2 separate regions of the Homo sapiens genome follow, and region 2 is linked to region 1. Evidence: promoter capture Hi-C in human tissues and cell types (Jung and others, 2019). All regions are on one chromosome and are shown on one strand. The core of a region is centred on a gene start or on the middle of the fragment in contact, and the rest is flanking DNA. Distances in the headings are between cores, read along the strand shown. Region 1 holds the start of NOVA2 (NOVA alternative splicing regulator 2). Region 2 has its middle 3.1 kb from the start of IGFL4.

Region 1 (5,739 bases), core at 2,854-5,353:
GAGTCCCTGACTAGAGTTTCCGTCCAACCTCTTCACCCAAGTCTTCCTGCCCTTAGTGCCTTGTTTTCCTCCCAGCGGCATCTGCCAGCCACTCACAGTGCCCAGAAGCAAGTGTGAACTGCCACCATCTCCTCCACTTCTCCCATCTGCTCCCAGAAGCGGGCAGGAGTGGGGCAAGAATCTCATCTGTCCAGTAGGCCACTGCTTGCTGGGACACCCAGGAAAAGCCCTCTGAGCCTCAGTTTCCCCATCTAAAAATAGGGTCCATTCTAGTGTCTCCCCACACAATGGAGCCAGCCGCCTAAGTTCACATCATGGTTCTGCTGCTTATCAGCTGAGTGACGTTGGGCAAGTGACTTAACCTCTCTGTGCCTCAGTTTTTCATCTGTAACATGGGTTAACATGATAGAATTGTTGTAAGGATTAAGGAATTGATCCATGTCAAGCACTTCCCATGATAGTTCCTGGCATACTGCAGTATCGTAAGTCTAGCCATTATTATAACTGATTATTATTATTCCATCATAGCATGTTGGGAGAGTGATATGAAATTGCACGTAAGACATTAAACAATAATATAGGTAGCTATTGTTAGTATTATCCTTGTGTTTTTTGTTGGTTTTTTTTTTTTTGAGATGGCGTTTCGCTCTGTTGCCCAGGCTGGAGTGTGGTGGTGCGATCTCGGCTCACTAAAACCTCCACCTCCTGGATTCAAGCGATTCTCCTGCCTCAACCTCCTGAGTAGCTCGGACTATAGGCGCCCACCACCATGCCCCGATAATTTGTGTATTTTTAGTAGAGATGGGGTCTCACCATGTTGGCCAAGCTGTTCTTGAACTCCTGACCTCAAATGATCCACCCGCCTCAGCCTATCAAAGTGCTGGGATTACAGGCATGAGCTACTGTGCCCAGCCCCTTATGGTCATTTTTATGTGCCCACTTGGCAGATGAGGACACTGAGGCTCAGAAAAGGGGATGGGTTGGCCCAGCATCCCCCAGCTATGAATGTATATTATTGAAAGAAGCCCTCAATTTTGGGATCAAAGTCCTGGACCCTTGCCCAGCCCTGCCCCTGAGTGTGTTTCTGTCAATGGAGGCCTGTCCCTCTGCATCTCCCGGCCTCAGTTTCCCCATGAGTAAACAGAAGCGGGGTGGGAGACAGTCTGGAGGAGATGGTCCCTAAAGGCTCATCCTAGTTTCCCCGCTGTGGAGGGAGGCAGGATAGCACAGAGGTTACGTCCAGGAGCTCCGGAACCAGGCAGCCTAGGGTTGGGTAAATTCTAGCTCCATCACTTAGAAACCGTGTGACCTTGGGCAAGCGGTTTCATTTTGCTGAGCCTCAGTTTTCCTCATCTGTAAAGATGCTCAAATCATGTCTCCCAGGGGTTGTACTGAGATATTAACCCATGTCTCAGAGTAGTAGGTGCCAAGTAGGCAGATGTGACTGTTATTAGCAGCAGTGGCATCAGTGTTAAGTTGTGCTGAGAAGTGATCAGATTCTAAGCATCTCAGTCCCTGTAGAGAAAGGTGGGAACCCCCTACCCTCTGGAGGACGGTGGTGGAGGGCTAGACAGTCTGGCTGGGCTCAGGGACCTCCTGGGTCCCTGACCTCTCCAGGACTGGGAACAGCAGTGGGGCAGGAAGGAGGGAAGGAAGTCGGGGACATATTCATGTGTGTGCTGGGGGTGGGGGAGCAGGAAGAAGGACAGGAAACTCCCTCCCATCCCCTCCCCCAACTTCCCTTTCCTCCAATTTCTGCTGGACACCCTCACAGGCATCCAGGGGGTCCCTGATTCCTGTCCCACCTGGATGGAGGTGGGGGAGGGCTAGGATGGGAGGAAGAAAGTCGGCTTGTATTCATCTGTAGGGAGGAGGTAGGAGGCCCCCACCCCACCCACTGCCAGGCCTGGCGGAGAGGAAAGGGTGCACTCTGCCTGAAGCCATCCCTCTCCCATCCGGAGGAAAAGGCCAGAGGAAGTGGAGATTTTGGCAAGGTGACCGCGGGGAGGGGCTTGTCCGCTGCGGGGTCTCCCTCCTACCAGGGAGCTAGAGGACAGGGCTCTGAGGACCCCAAAAAACCCCACCTCTTCCCTGAGCCCCCCACGGCAGGGCATGCACCTAGAGTTCCCAGCTCGGCTTTTCTTCTCTGGTACACACACCTCCTTGGGTCACACACCCAGGGAGAGCCCCTCTCTTCCCTCACACTGCCTTCCGTGGTGTCAAACATTCGGCAATCTCCAATACACACGGACACACACACAGCCTCCCTTGTCAAACACATGCAGAATCATCCCCATATCTCTGGTGTCACACACTCAGCCATTTCACACACACACCTCTCCTTGTTACACCCATACACACAGCTGGGTGTCATATGCACACGTGCCCTGTCACATGGGGACCCATCCTTCCTTCTCCTTTTTACACACCCTCGTGCGTTTCACCCACAAGCCCCAGCCTCTCCCTCGTCATACACCCACCTTCCCTGTTGCACACACCCCCTCTGATGTCACTGTTGCACACCTCCATGTGTCACACCCAGCCACAGCCTCTCTGGAGTCACACCCACACCCTTTTCTTGTCACATCCCCTCACCAGCCACGCCTGTGTCACACACACTGGACCCCTTTCCTCTGATCTACACGGCCTCTTCTGGCTGACACCCAGAGCCAGCCCATTCGGTGTCCCCCACACACCTCCTTGCATGTCACACACACCCTCTCATGTGTCACACTCTGCCACAGCCCCCTTGGGGGTGACAAGCACACACCTTTCCTTGTCACACGTACCCGCTGGAGGGTCTCAAACATGGAGCCCAGCCCCTGTCCCCTGTCTTTCTCATACACCCCCCTATGCTGTCATATTCCTGATCCCTAATGTCACACATCCAGGCTGTAGAGGGCACACATACACACACACGCACACACATACACACCTGTCCTAGCCTCACATTCTCCCACCTAGCTTTACACACCCACCATTTCCTCCATTTCACCCCACACACCTACCCAGCCTGTCCCCACGCACGATCCGGCCAGGGCCACACAAGCCTCCATCTGGGACAACCCTTGTTCAGGACATCCCCAGGGAGGGAGGCTGGGAAGCTCCCGGTCCACAGGCCTCTACTCCTTCCCCTCCCCCAGCCAGGACACGCGAGCTCGGGGAACACCCCTGCTCCGAAAGGGTCACATCACACACCCCTCAAGGACACACAGACACCTGCCCTGAGGCTCCCACGCCCCCCATCTTCTGCGCCCCCCAAGGACACTTATCACCCCCTCCCCCCCACCCCTCTCCTCGCAGACAAAGCTCCCAGCCCCGGGCCTCAGCGAGAGGAGGAGGGGGTCCAGCCCCCTCCTCAACTCCCCGCTCTGTCCCCCGCCTCGGGGAGGGGTGTCTCTCCCCTCCCCAGAGCCCTTGCACCTGCCACGGGAGGGGGGGAAAGGATGGAGAAAGGCGAGGCCCCCTGCCCGCTCCCCCGCCCCGAGCCGCAGCCCTTTCTCACCTCCCGTGTTGCTGCGCTTGGTGCAGACCACCTCGGGGGGCGTTTCGAGGGGCCTCTTGCGGGAATCCGGGGCCTCGGGCTCCATGGGGGGGGCCTGGGGCGGCGGCTGCTGCTGCTGCGGCGGCTGCGGCGGCGGCGGCGGCGGCTGCTGTGGCGGCGGCGACGGCTGCTGGGGAGGCTGGGGTTGCGGCGGCGGCGGCGGCGGGGGCGGCGGCGGCTGCGGGGCCGCGGAGGCCGTGAAGAGGCCGTGCACCGCGCCGGCGGCCATCATCCTCATGGTGGGGGGGGGCGGGGGGCGGGGGGCGGGGGAGGGGGAGGGGAGGGGAGGTGGGAGGGGGAGGGGGCGGTGGAGGGATGGGGGAGGGGGAGCCCCGGAGAGGGAAGGCGGGGGTAGGGGGGAGCCGGTTCTCGGGGGGCTGACAGAGCCTGGAGAGCGGCCGTGAGCAGGATGGCAGGGCCGAGGGGGGTCTCCGATAGGGCCGGGAAAGAACTGAGAGGTGGGGTCTCTCCTGGGACCACAGAGGCTGGGGACTGGACGCGCCACTGGGGGGACGGGACTCCCCGCTTCTTCTTGGCTCCCTGGGGCAAGAGGGCCGAGCCCCCCAGACCCTGCTCGGGGTGGGGGGCCGGAGGAGCGTGGCCGGAGTGGGAGGCGGAGGCGGCCGCTAGTGGGGGCCCGGGGGGCGGCGGGCGCGGGCGGCGGCGGCGACGGGGCTGGCGGTGGCTGCTGGCCCGAGCATCTTCTTCCCGGAGGCTCCCACAGCGCCTGGCCCCTCCCACCCAACGAGGTCACGCCCATGCCGGGTAGGGCCACGCCCTTCGGCGCCCCCATTGGTCCAGCCTTGAAGCCTGGACCACGTCCCTCTGGGTTGGCCACGCCCCTCCCGGCGGCAGAGAGCTGGACCCGACTCCCCCAGGCTGCTGGGAGGACCCCGGGCTCCTCCAAGCCGTCCCCACTCCTCACCTTGAATGAACGTTTATTGAGCACTTACTGTGTGCCAGGTCCGGTTCCAAGCAAGCACGTCACAGACGTTATCGCATTTACTCCCCAGAGCGACCAGCTCTGTGAGTTACGCTTATTATCCCTATTTTACAGATGAGGAAACAGCCTTAGGAGCTTACTTTGACTTCACTTGGTCAAGACAAGAAATTTCGACTAGGCGCGGTGGTTCATGCCTGTCATCCCAGCACTTTGGGAGGCCGAGGCGGAAGAATCACTTGAGCCCAGGAGTTTGAGACGAGCTGGGCAACAATATTGTGAGACCCCATCTCTACAAAAAAAAAATTTTTTTTTTAATTAGCCAGGCGTGGTAGCACATGCTTGTAGCCCCAGGTACTCTGGAGTCTGAGGTGGGAGGATCTCTTGAGCACAGGAGTTTGAGGCTGCAGTCAGCCATGATCAAGCAACTAGATTCGAGCCTGGGAGACAGAGCAAAACCTTGTCTCAAAAAAAAAAAAAAAAAAGAAAGAAAGAAAGAGAAAGAAATTTCACTTCACTCTTTTTCAATCCTTTCAGCTGGGAAATTCCCCTTCAAATCTTTCATCCATCCTTTGAAGAATCAACACCGTGATGCTGAAAGGGCTCAGAGGATTGAATTCACTGAGCTGGAGTTGCAGCCTGCAGCACCTGCCCTGGGGCACAACTGGCTCTCCATTCAAACAACAGCACTCAGGGCCTACCTACTAAGTGCCAGGCACTGTCCCTGATGCTGCGATACAATAGAGAACAAAACAGCCTTGGCCCTTGTACAGTATTACTACTCATGTCATTAAGAAAAATTTGTTTTCAGATGACAAAGTGGAGGCCTGGGAACATTGAGGGTGGCTTCTTCAAGGGCACACAGCTTGAGAGAGAGAAACTGGGATGAGAACGCAGGACAAGTCCAATTTCAGAGCCCAAAGTCATTGGAACTAGGGTGCCTTTCTTTGGAATGGATCATTGCTATTATTCTGTGTTCCTTGATGCAAGAATTTCCTTCTCCCTGGGTTCTTAACCTCCAAGGAATCTTTCCTTCCTGGGTTGGTCAGAGGCAAGATTAGGCTCAGAAGGGGTCTGGATGCAGGTAATTGTGGCCACTGCGTGATCTGCGGCAGGGGGATCGGCTCCAACCCCCCCCTGCTCCTCCCTTGCCATGCTCTCAGGTCCCCAGGATGGGGGAGGGTAGCAGATGGCCTGGGGTGGATGGGGTGGCTACCCATCTGTCCCCTCCCCCCCATTGTCCCCAGAGCCAAGG
Region 2 (6,012 bases), core at 649-3,148, 69 kb after region 1:
TAGGGAGGTGTGCAGAAGGAGTGGTTTCTTGGGAAGAGTTAGGCAAAAAGAGCTGCAGGGAACATAAATAATTCATCAAAAGCTTAATGAGATGCTTCTGGACCTGTTCCAAGTGGTTGCTGCCTCCTCAGACCCTTCAGATCCTCAGGGTAAAGGCTACCCAGGAACCTATCTAAGCTTTGACTCTGCTGAGTGTCTTTCTTTGAACACCGCCCAAGGGAAAACCACTTGGAAGATATTCCTTAACTCTTGCTTATCTAAGATCAAATTACTCACCAAACACCGGCTGTCTCTAGGCTCCCCATATTCCTCCACCCTGAAGTTTCAAGGAGTCCCTCTACTCCCCGTCTCAGTTCACCTGCAGACCTGCACTGTCTATAATTTTTCAGAGTCACGTAGGAGAATTTGTGAAGTTGCAGCATAATCTAGAAGAACAGCAGGGGCTGCAAAACTGTGCCAGGGAGAACAACAACAACAAAAATAGGCGGTGGTAGGATGGATCTCTGGGATTCCAGATAGGAAAGCAGCACCTTTTTTTTTTTTTTGGTTTGTGGAGTGCCTTGTCCAAGAAAATGCTCCTGTGTGTCTCACTGTGTGATGGGATTACATGTGGCGTATTTTTAGAGCATGCCCCTCCATTTTCCACTGGTTTCTTCCCTGTGTCACAGTGAGAAGGGTGGGAGGGTGAAAGAAGGATAAGGCACAGGTATTAGAGCTTTGTAAAAGTGCATTGTTAGTATAGACTCTCTAGAGTCTCTTCCTCCTCCCTCCTCTCTCTCTTTTTTTTTTTTTTTTTTTGAGACACCGTATCTCTCTGTCTCCCAGGCTGGAGGGCAGTGGTGCTATCTTTGCTCACTGTAACCTTTGCCCCCCAAGTTGAAGCCATCCTCCCACCTCAGCCTCTTGAGTAGCTGGGACTACAGGCAGGCACCTCCTGGCCTGGCTAATTTTTTTGTATTTTTCATAGAGTTAGGGTCCTACAATGTTCTGGTCTTGGAATCCTGAGCTCAAGCAATCCACCTGCCCCAGCCTCCCAAAGTGCATTGATTTTGTTGTTGTTGTGCTTATTTGCACTCCAGCCTGGCCTCTCCTTTCTTGACTGGATGTCCAAGTCTTCGGTATTGATTTCATGCAATAAACTAGCTCTCCTCGCCTATTTCTGCAGTTGCGTATTTGCATAGATATGTCTGTTTGTCTGCTTATCAATATGCCTTCTCCTTTCCCACACATCCAAACAGAAATCCCACCTGTAAAGACACATTCTCTCACCTACACAGAACAGCTGCTGCGGAAACAGACCTATAAGAACTACATTCCTGTTTATCAAGTTAAGTAGTGTGAATACCGCATTATAACTCCGAGCCAGCAACCAAGAAATTTATGACCACTTGAAAGGGAAAGCTGCAATGAAGAGTACAAGTGACTAAGGAGGGAAATCCCAAAGCTGATTACTAGAATTGATCTCTGTATAATTGAACTATCTATGTAGAAAATCCCACGGAACCCACTGTCAAGCAAGAGGTGAGTCTGACAGATTCTGTTAGTGACAAAAACAAGCTCTTTTTAGATTCAGACACTTTATTACTTACACAGACAGGGAAAGAAAGAGCCACAGGTGCCAGCACCATGTCCCTTATACAGGGTGACACTGAAACAAAAGGGCCAGATGACTGAACAAGAATAATAGGATGCCTGTTGCTGAGTAGAGAATCCAGCCTGTGGCTCCATGGTATAGGGAGGTAGAAAGCCTCATCCCTCCCTAGAAGCCAGAGGCAGTGAGAAGCTGTGTCATGGCGGCCTCCCTTATCCATAGGGAAGTGAGTGACAAGTGATGCTGTAGCAGCTTCCCACAAGCCTCCCATGACCTCACGTTCTGGGAAGACCAGAGAGTGTTCTGCCATGACATACATCAGCTACAGTTAATTTCACCAACGTGGCCCACGTGGAGATGTTTGAGGTCGCCGGGGCAGTAGGGCAGAGCCATTACCGTAAACCTACCCCCAAAGCTCCGGGAACTAATAAGTAAATTTAGATGGTTGTAGAATACAAAGTCAACACACAAAAATCAATTGTATTTCTCGCTCCTGGAATAAGTGGAAACAAAAATTTAGAGGGGAACAATGCCATTTATAATGCCCCCCTACTGAAATTGAATACTTAGGTATACTGTAAATCTAGGAGAACATGTAGAGGATATATATGCTTAAAACTATAAACTAGTGATTAAAGTAATCAAGGAAAACCTAAATATAGAGTGGTATATCATGTCATAGTTTAGAATATGGGGCTTTTTAGCTAAGATGTCAATTCTCTCCAAATTGTCTACAGATTTAACACAATTCCAATGAAAACCCAAGCAGGATTTGTCTCAGATAGAAGCAAAATAATTCTAGAATTTATCTGGAAAGGCAGTGGAAACAAGAATGGCCCAAACAATTTTGGTTGATGAAAAATGTTGGAGGACTCACACTACCCAATTTCACAATTACTCCAGCTACACTAATGAAGACAGTATAGTATTGGCAAGTGGAGAGATACATAGATCAATGGAGCAGAACAGATTTCAGAAATAAACCCAAACAAACATGGCAAATTGACTTTTGACAAAGATGCAAAAGCAATTCAATGTGGGAAAAGATAGTCATTTCAACAAATGGTGTGGGACAATGGGCATGCATATGAAAAAAAAAATCTTCTACCAAAGCTTACACTTCCTACAAAATTTAACTCCAAAATGATCTAGATATAAAAAGTTAAACTATACATTTTCTAGAAGAAAACATAAAAAAAATCCTTATGACTTAGGGAAAAGATACAAAAAACATTGTCCATTTAAAAAATGGATAGATCAGGAAGCGGGCAAGATGGCTGACTAGAAGCAGCTGTGGTCCACCGCACTCACAGAGAGGAATGAAAGGAGTGAGTGAATTCAGCATCTTCAACTGAAATATACAGGTTGTCACTCTCAACCCATGGAGAACGAAGAAATGCAGGGTAGGGTGATGGTCCACCCAGGAGCAGTGTGGAGGTATGGGGACTCCTGCCCCCAGCCAAGTGAAGCAGTGAGTGATTGTGCAACCCTGCCTGGGAAACCATGCTTCTCCCATGGATATTTGCAACCTTAGGATCAAGAGATCCCCACATAAGCCCACGCCCAGAGATTTGGGTCCAATACACAGAGCTGTGTGGAGTCTTGGCAGAGCGGCCACAGGGGCACTCACAGAGACCCAGGAGTTTTACGTACTCTGGCCCTGGGATCTGCAGCAAGGGAGGACATCCCTCCATACATATTTCTATGAAGGGGGCTGAATCCAGAGAACCAAGCAGTGTCATTCTGTGGACCCCACTTCCACAGCACCTCACAAGTTAAGACCCAGTGGCTTGGAATTCCAGCCAGCCAACAGCAACAGGCCGGAGTCTGCCTGGGTCAGGACCAAGTTCCTGGGGTGGGGGTGTCGTGGGGGCAGTCACCATCTCTGTGGTTCAGTAGACTCAGCCATTCTAGCCTGCCAGCTTTGGAGAATACAAATGGTCCAGATGAGGAAGGGTTCCCCACAACACAGCACATCTGCCTTGCCAGATTGTAGCTAGACTGCTTCTTTAAGTGGTTCCCTGACCCCATTCCTCCTGACTGGGTGAGACCTCCTAACAAGGGTCTCCAGCCACCTCCTACAGGGACGTTTGGGTCAACAACTGGTCAGAGGAAGGAGCAGGCTGCCATCTTTGCTGTTTTGCAGCCTTCACTGGTGACACCTTCAGGTACGGGAAAAACGGAGGCAACCAGGGTCTTGAACAAACCCCCAGCACACCACAGCAGCCCTGTGGAATAGTGGCCTGACTGTTAAAAGAAAAACAAACAGAAAACACCAACAACATCAGCAAAAAAGACCCCACAGAAACCTCATTCAAAGGTCAGCAACTTCAAAAATCAAAGGTAAACCCACACAGATGAGAAAGAATCAATGCAAAAATGCTGAAAACTCAAAAAGCCAGAGTGCTTCTTCTCTTCCAAATGACCACAGTACCTCTCCAGCAAGGGCACAGAACTGGGCTGAGACCGAGATGGCTGAATTAACAGAAGTAGTTTTAAGAAGGTGGGTAATAGGCCAGGCGCAGTGGCTCACACCTTTAATCCCAGCACTTTGGGAGGCCGAGGCAGGTGGATCACGAGGTCAGGAGTTAGAGACCAGCCTGACCAACATGGTGAAACCCCCTCTCTACTAAAAATACAAAAGTTAGCTGGGCATGGTGGCACATGCCTATAATCCCAGATGCTGAGGAGGCTGAGGCAGGAGAATCGCTTGAACCCGGGAGGCAGAGGTTACAGTGAGCTGAGATCGCGCCACTGCACTCCAGCCTGGGTGACAAGAGTGAAACTCTGTCTCAAAAAAAAAAAAGAAAAAGATGGGTAATAATGAACTTCACTGAGCTAAAGGAGGATGTTGTATCCCATTGCAAATAAGCTAAGAATCATGATAAATTATACAGGAGCTGACAGAATAGCCAGTTTAGAGAGGAACATAACTGACCCAATGGAACTGGAAAACACAAGAACTTCACAATGCAATCATAAGTATCAGTTACAGAATAGTTCAAGCAGAGGAAAGAATTTCAGAGCTTAAAGACCGTCCTTCTGAAATTATACAGGCAGACAAGAATAGAGAAAAAAGAACAAAAAGAACTGAACAAAACCTCTGAGAAATATGTAAAGAGACAGAATCTATGACTGATTGGGGTACCTGAAAGAGACAGGGAAATTGGAACCAAGTTGGAAAACATACTCCAGGATATCATCCAGGAGAACTTCCCCAAACTTGCAAGACAGGCCAACATTCAAATTCAGTAAATACAGAGAACCCCAGTGAGATACTCCATAAGAAGATTTACCCCAAGACATATAATCAGCAGATTCTTCATTGTCGAAATGAAAGAAAAAATGTTAAGGGCAGCCAGAGAGAAAGGCCAGGTAACCTACAAAGAAAAGCCCATCAGACTACCAGCGGACCTCTCAGTGGAAATCCTACAAGCCAGAAGAGATTGGGGGCCAATATTCAACATTCTTAAAAGAATTTCCAACCCAGGATTTCATATCCAGCCAAACTAAGCTTCATAAGTGGAGAAATAAGGTCCTTTTCAGACAAGCAAATGCTGTGGGAATTCGTCACCACCAAGCCTGCCTTGCAAGAGCTCCTGAAGGAAGCAATAAATATGGAAAGGGAAAACCTTTACCAGCCACTACAAAAACACACTGAAATACACAGACAAGTAACACTATGAAGCAACCAACAAAACAAGTCTGTAAAATAACCAGCTAGCATCATGATGACAGGAACAAATTCACACATAACAATACTAACCTTAAATGTAAGTGGGCTAAATTCCTGAATTAAAAGACACAGAATGGCAAGTTGGATAAAGAGCCAAGACCCATTGATATACTGTCTTCGAGAGACCCATCTCACATGTGGGACACACATAGGCTCAAAATAAAGGGATGGAGGAGAAATTTATCAAGGAAATGGAAAACAGAAAAAAGCATGGGTTGCAACCCTAGTTTCTGACCAAACAGACTTTAAACCAACAAAAATCCAGAAAGACAAAGAAGGGTGTTACATAATGGTAAAGGGATCAATTGGACAAGAAGAGCTAAGTATCCTAAATATATATGCATCCAATACAGGAGAACCCAGATTCATAAAGCAAGTTCTTACAGATCTACAAGAGACTTAAGACTCCCACACAACAATAGTGGAATACTTTAACACCCACTGTCAATATTAGATCATCGAGACAGAAAATTAACAAAGATATTCAGGACCTGAACTCAGCTCTGGATCAAGTGGACCTGATAGATATCTACAGAACTCTCTACCCCAAACAACAGAATATACATTCTTCTCATTGCCACATGGCACTCACTCTAAAATTGATCACAAAATCAGAAGTAAAACACTCCTCGCAAAAGCAAAAGAACTGAAGTCATAACAAACAGTCTCTCAGACCACAGCACAA

Evidence for each region. The method cuts DNA at HindIII sites, captures the fragments that hold promoters and counts their contacts. A contact is called where the count stands out against the background at its distance.
Region 2: a contact is called between a fragment that was not itself captured here and the fragment with the promoter of NOVA2 in region 1, in 2 of the 25 tissues and cell types used here (hippocampus and mesenchymal stem cells).

Annotation. Positions count from the first base shown.
Region 1 is chr19:45,969,762-45,975,500 of GRCh38, forward strand. It overlaps NOVA2 (NOVA alternative splicing regulator 2), which reads right to left and starts at 4,104. Exons shown (of 4, transcript NM_002516.4): 1 at 3,506-4,104. The coding sequence starts at 3,590. RefSeq lists a silencer at 4,270-4,429. The HindIII fragment of the contact is 35,305 bases long and covers 1-5,739 here.
Region 2 is chr19:46,041,059-46,047,070 of GRCh38, forward strand. It overlaps a transcript of IGFL4 not described here. Among named protein-coding and RNA genes, the nearest start is that of IGFL4, 3.1 kb to the left of the region's middle. The HindIII fragment of the contact is 4,011 bases long and covers 1-3,904 here.